2 separate regions of the Homo sapiens genome follow, and region 1 is linked to region 2. The links are contacts of gene promoters, found by promoter capture Hi-C in human tissues and cell types (Jung and others, 2019). All regions are on one chromosome and are shown on one strand. The core of a region is centred on a gene start or on the middle of the fragment in contact, and the rest is flanking DNA. Distances in the headings are between cores, read along the strand shown.

What was found. Contacts are between HindIII fragments. The study calls those that stand out against the background at their distance.
Region 1: a fragment that was not itself captured here is called in contact with the fragment with the promoter of KLB in region 2 in 2 of the 25 tissues and cell types used here (spleen and stomach).

What each region holds. Positions count from the first base shown.
Region 1 is chr4:39,371,201-39,374,293 of GRCh38, forward strand. No RefSeq gene overlaps it. Among named protein-coding and RNA genes, the nearest start is that of RFC1, 6.4 kb to the left of the region's middle. The HindIII fragment of the contact is 4,681 bases long and covers 1-3,093 here.
Region 2 is chr4:39,405,556-39,408,575 of GRCh38, forward strand. It overlaps KLB (klotho beta), which reads left to right and starts at 1,375. Exons shown (of 5, transcript NM_175737.4): 1 at 1,375-2,219. The coding sequence starts at 1,395. The HindIII fragment of the contact is 19,436 bases long and covers 1-2,208 here.

The sequences.
Region 1 (3,093 bases), core at 374-2,873, 34 kb before region 2:
CCCTATGTCCCAGCCACTCCAGCCGTGGCTGAAAGGGGCCAATGTAGAGCTTGGGCTGTGGCTTCAGAGGGTGCAAGCCTCAAGTCTTGGCAGCTTCCACGTAGCATTGAGCCTGCAAGTGCACAGAAGTCAAGAATTGAGGTTTGGGAACCTCTGCCTAGATTTCTGAAGATGTATGGAAATGCCTGGATGCCCAGGCAGAAGTTTGCTGTAGGGGCGGAGCCCTCATGGAGAACCTCTGCTAGGGTAGTGCTGAAGTGAAATGTGGGATCAGAGCCCCCACACAGAGTCCCCACTGGGGCGCTGCCTAGTGGAGCTGTGAGAAGAGGGCCACCGTCCTCCAGACCCCAGAATGGTAGATCCACTGACAGCTTGCACCATGCACCTGGAAAAGCCGCAGACACTCAACATCAGCCCATGAAAGCAACTGGGAGGGAAGCTGTACCCTGCAAAGCCACAGGGGTGGAGCTGCCCAAGACCATGGGAACCCACCTCTTGAATCAGCATACCTGGATGTGAGACATGGAGTCAAAGGAGATCATTTTGGAGCTTTAAGATTCGACTGCCCTGCTGGATTTCAGACTTGCATGGGGCGTGTAGCCCCTTTGTTTTGGCCAATTTCTCCAATTTGGAATGGCTGTATTTACCCAATGCCTGTACCCCCATTGTATCTAGGAAGTCACTAACTTGCTCTTGATTTTACAGGCTCATAGGCAGAAGGGACTTGCCTTGTCTTGGATGAGACTTTAGACTGTAGACTTTTGAGTTAATGCTGAAATGAGTTAAGACTTTGGGGGACTGCTGGAAAGGCATGATTGGTTTTGAAATGTGAAGATATGAGATTTGGGAGGGACCAGGGATGGAATGATATGGTTTGGCTCTGTGTTCCCACCCAAATCTCATCTTGTAGCTCCCATAATTCTCACATGTTGTGGGAGGGACCCAGTGCGAGATGATTGAATCATGGGGCAGGTCTTTCCCATGCTGTTCTCGTAATAGTGAATGGGTCTCACAACATCTGATGGTTTTAAAAATGTGAGTTTCTCTGCACATACTCTCTCTCTTTGCCTGCTGCCATCCATGTAAGTTGTGACTTACTCCTCCTTGCCTTCCACCGTGATTGTGAGGCCTCCCCAGCCATGTGGAACTGCAAGTCCAATAAATTTATTTCTTTTGTAAATTGCCCAGTCTTGGGTATGTCTTTATGAGCAGTGTGAAAATGGGCTAATACATATACCATTGAGCAAAAGAAGCATCTATTCCATATGCAATATATTTTGCTGGCTGTTCAGGCTGAATGGAAAGATCAGTAAAAGCTTTCCCTACCTCAGTGAATTTTATGAATGAAATGAGGATAAAATATTTACACTGCACACACACAAAAAATAACATCTGTATCTCTATGAAGCAGGTAACAATGGCATAGGTTGCATTTAGCTGATAGAGAAATAATTTTAGTATGTCATAAAGTTATCAGTAGTTGCCATTAATACAAAATTTCTTTTAGTTTAAGTCTATTACTTGTTCAATTATTTCTATTTATAATTACATATTCACCTATAATTTTCAGAACTTTTGACTCCAGTGGAACTTTATTTTATTTTTTACTTTATTTTATTTTATTTTTGTAGAGACGGGATCTTGCTCTGTTGCCCAGGCTGGGCTCAAACTCCTGGCCTCAAGCAGTCCTCCCACCTTGGCCTCCCAAAGTGCGGGGATTACAGGCAGGAGCCACTGTGCCCGGCCTCCAGTGGAAATATGAATAGCAGTATTTAAATTCTACACAATCTATAATGCAGGGTGTATGAATGAGGAAACTATGACGACTTCTAAATAGGAGATATCCTATTATACATATATATTTTATGTATATATATTTCTTAGAGCAATCGCTAAGAAAAATATTTCTTTAATGTGTAGAGATTTGCTGACAACTGAACTACTCTTTGTCTTCATTTTATGCAATTTTAATAATCATTCTTGGCACTTAAAGTCAATCAGTGAGAGAACGGAAAAGAGGTGAAATTCAACTATAGTAGTGAGTTTCAATTTATAGTTTTGCTAATCACACTTCGTTTTTGTTTTTTTTTTTTTTTTGAGATGGAGTCTCGCTCTATTGCCCTGTCTCTGTTGTAGAGCCACAGTTTCACCATGTTGGCCAGGCTGGTCTCAAACTCCTGATCTCAACTGATCCACCCGCCTCGGCCTCCCAAACTGTTAGGATTACAGGCGTGAGCCACCACGCCTGGCACACACTCTTAAACTAAAACATTTTCTTACAAATGTCTAGAGAATCGGCTGGGTGCAGTGGCTCACACCTGTAATCCCAGCACTTTGGGAGGCCAAGGCAGGCAGATCACCTGAGGTCGGGAGTTCAAGACCAGCCTGACCAACATGGAGAAACCCCATCTCTACTAAAAATACAAAATTAGCTGGGCGTGGTGGCGCATGCCTGTAATCCCAGCTACTCAGGAGGCTGACGCAGGAGAATTGCTTGAACCCGGGAAGCGGAGGTTGCAGTGAGCCAAGATTGCTCCACTGCACTCCAACCTGGACAACAAGAGCAAAACTCTGTCTCAAAAAAAAATGTCTAGAGAATCTCAGGTATTAGTGATAAACTGTATTTACTTTATCAAGTGCTTACCACCATCCAGAGCTAATGATAATATTTATATGAAGCACCACCATCCAGAGCTAATGTTAATAGTTATATGAAGCCATCAACGCAGGTGTAATATTTTAAAATGTAGAGTCCAAAGCACTTACCTTATTTGTACTAAAACAAAGTTAGCTCTCTTCATAGCAACTAACAATTTAAATGGATATGTTAAAAGTATTGTTTATATCCTGTTGTGGTCATGAACCAGATTTTATCTGAGTAAGATTTTTGCCGTATATTTTATAGAAGATGTGAATGTATTGGGATTCCTTTTTTATGCCTTTCCTACTTTAATCTGTGTTTATTTGTAAAATTTTATTAATTAATTTATTTATTTGAGACAGTCTCTCTCTGTCGCCGAGGCTGGAGTGCAATAGTGCGGTCTGGGCTCACTGCAACCTCCACCTCCCAGGTGCAAGTGATTCAAGTGATTC
Region 2 (3,020 bases), core at 125-2,624:
AATAAATATTGCCTATTCTTCAAGGGAACTTTCATAATAATTTTCTCTTTTTTTTTTTTTTTTTATTTTGAGACCGAGTCTTGCTCTGTTGCCCAGGCTGGAGTGCGGTGGTGCGATCTCAGCTCACTACAACCTCCACGTCCCAGGTTCAAGAGATTCTCCTGCCTCAGCCTCCCAGGTAGCTGGGATTACAGGTGCCCACCACCGTGCCCAGCTAATTGTATTTTTAATAGAGACGGGGTTTCAACATGTTGGCTAGGCTGGTCTCAAACTCCTGACCCCAAGTGATCTGCCTGCCTTGGCCTCCCAAAGTGGTGGGATTATAGCCATGAATCACTGTGCCTGGCCTTTCGTAATAATTTTCTTGAACTAAAATTTGGGATTAGGCCAGGCATGGTGGCTCACACCTATAATCCCAAGCACTTTAGGAGGCCGAGGCAGAAGGGCTGTTTGAGCCCAGGAGTTCAGGACCAGCCTGGGGGACATAGCTAGACCCCACCTCTACCAAAAAATCAAAAATCAGCTGGGCATGGTGGCATGTGCCTGTTGTCCCAGCTACTTGGAGGCTGAGGAGGGAGGATTGCTTAAGCCTGGGAAGTTGAGGCTGCGGTGAGCTGTGATGACACCACTGCACTCCAGCCTAGGCTACAAAGCAAGACTCTTATTAAAAATTAATTAATTAATTAAAAAATTAGAGATTAGAGAATTTTAGTTAAGTTAAATAAATAAAATAAAAAATAAAATTAGAGATTAGAGGATTTTAGTTAAGTTAAATGTATTAAATTGAAAAGTATTTCATTTTTCCATCCACAAAGTGCTATATTTTCTCATTCAAGTCTTCTCTCAAATCTACCAATACATTTTTGCAATTTTCCTAAAATAGGTAACATTTATTAAGATTGTTCTTAGATGCGTTATAATTTTGTGGAGAAGTGTAATTTCTTATTGTGTTTTCTAATTCTTTACTATTGGTATGTAGGAATGCTATATACTTGTATATGTTATTTTTCTTGATATATGAGATTATAAAATTACCACACAAAAACTCTAAAAATAGAAAAGCTATATACCTTATTCAATAATGTTCAAAACATTCAGAAAAGATTTGGGTCAATATGAAAGGCTACACGGAAAATAATGTGATTTTAATCCAGTGTTTACATATGTGTTAGTTACACATTCAAACTCTTGTCACCGATGCATTTTCATCTAATTTTTTCCATAATGAGAGAGAAGGAGACGCGTTGGTGACTGCAATAGGGCCACCTCCCTCAAATTACGTTGCTCTCTATGACCCATCCTCAGTCTCCCAGTTCAAGCTAATCATTGACAGAGCTTTACAATCACAAGCTTTTACTGAAGCTTTGATAAGACAGTCCAGCAGTTGGTGGCAAATGAAGCCAGGCTGTGCGGCAGGATCTCCAGGGAATGAATGGATTTTCTTCAGCACTGATGAAATAACCACACGCTATAGGAATACAATGTCCAACGGGGGATTGCAAAGATCTGTCATCCTGTCAGCACTTATTCTGCTACGAGCTGTTACTGGATTCTCTGGAGATGGAAGAGCTATATGGTCTAAAAATCCTAATTTTACTCCGGTAAATGAAAGTCAGCTGTTTCTCTATGACACTTTCCCTAAAAACTTTTTCTGGGGTATTGGGACTGGAGCATTGCAAGTGGAAGGGAGTTGGAAGAAGGATGGAAAAGGACCTTCTATATGGGATCATTTCATCCACACACACCTTAAAAATGTCAGCAGCACGAATGGTTCCAGTGACAGTTATATTTTTCTGGAAAAAGACTTATCAGCCCTGGATTTTATAGGAGTTTCTTTTTATCAATTTTCAATTTCCTGGCCAAGGCTTTTCCCCGATGGAATAGTAACAGTTGCCAACGCAAAAGGTCTGCAGTACTACAGTACTCTTCTGGACGCTCTAGTGCTTAGAAACATTGAACCTATAGTTACTTTATACCACTGGGATTTGCCTTTGGCACTACAAGAAAAATATGGGGGGTGGAAAAATGATACCATAATAGATATCTTCAATGACTATGCCACATACTGTTTCCAGATGTTTGGGGACCGTGTCAAATATTGGATTACAATTCACAACCCATATCTAGTGGCTTGGCATGGGTATGGGACAGGTATGCATGCCCCTGGAGAGAAGGGAAATTTAGCAGCTGTCTACACTGTGGGACACAACTTGATCAAGGTACTGTACAGCTAGCTTCTTCTTATAGCTTCAGAAAACACTAAGAATTTAAGAATTTACCTTCTGCCTCAGTAATTCTCTTCACTGAAATCAAGGCAACTGATTTTAAGCTAATTCAAAAGATCTATCCTCAAATTTTGCATTTAAGTTAGTGTATGTTTTATTTATCTAAGGTATTTTTAATGTATTAATCCAATTAGTTTTTTCAAAAGTTGCACTTTGAGGCTATTTTTAAATCTACCATTATACACTACAGTGTGAATATATGAGCTTACTTTCATTCTGTGGGAAAACAGTGCTTCATAAATTTAATTGTTGGAACCCTTTTCTGACAACATGCAATCATTTCAGAATTATCTTAAGGCACAACCATTTCAAATATGTATTTGTTGTTAAGTATAGCTAACTTAGCTAATAAGTAAATAAAGTAAGTAAATAAGTAAGCCAAATAAATGTTAGCTAACTCATGCATATTAAATACAGAAATTTAAATATACTTCACTTTTGATTTTATTTGTGTTACATAGCAAAAAAGAGAAGATTAATTGTTATGGGAGCTAAACACATTTCTTCCCATAAGAACTGGGAAGAATGTGCTCTACTAAAGCAATTTTCAAGCAATATATTTCAAAAGCTAGAGATAATGTTGAGAAATGTTAAAATTAGTAAAACAATAGTGAAAATACAAGCAAAATAATAGGTAATAATTACTGAGTACTTATTATGTACCACAGACTACATTAAGTATTTTACATGCATCGTTACAGTTGATCCTCTTAACAGCCTTTTGAACTAGTTTTA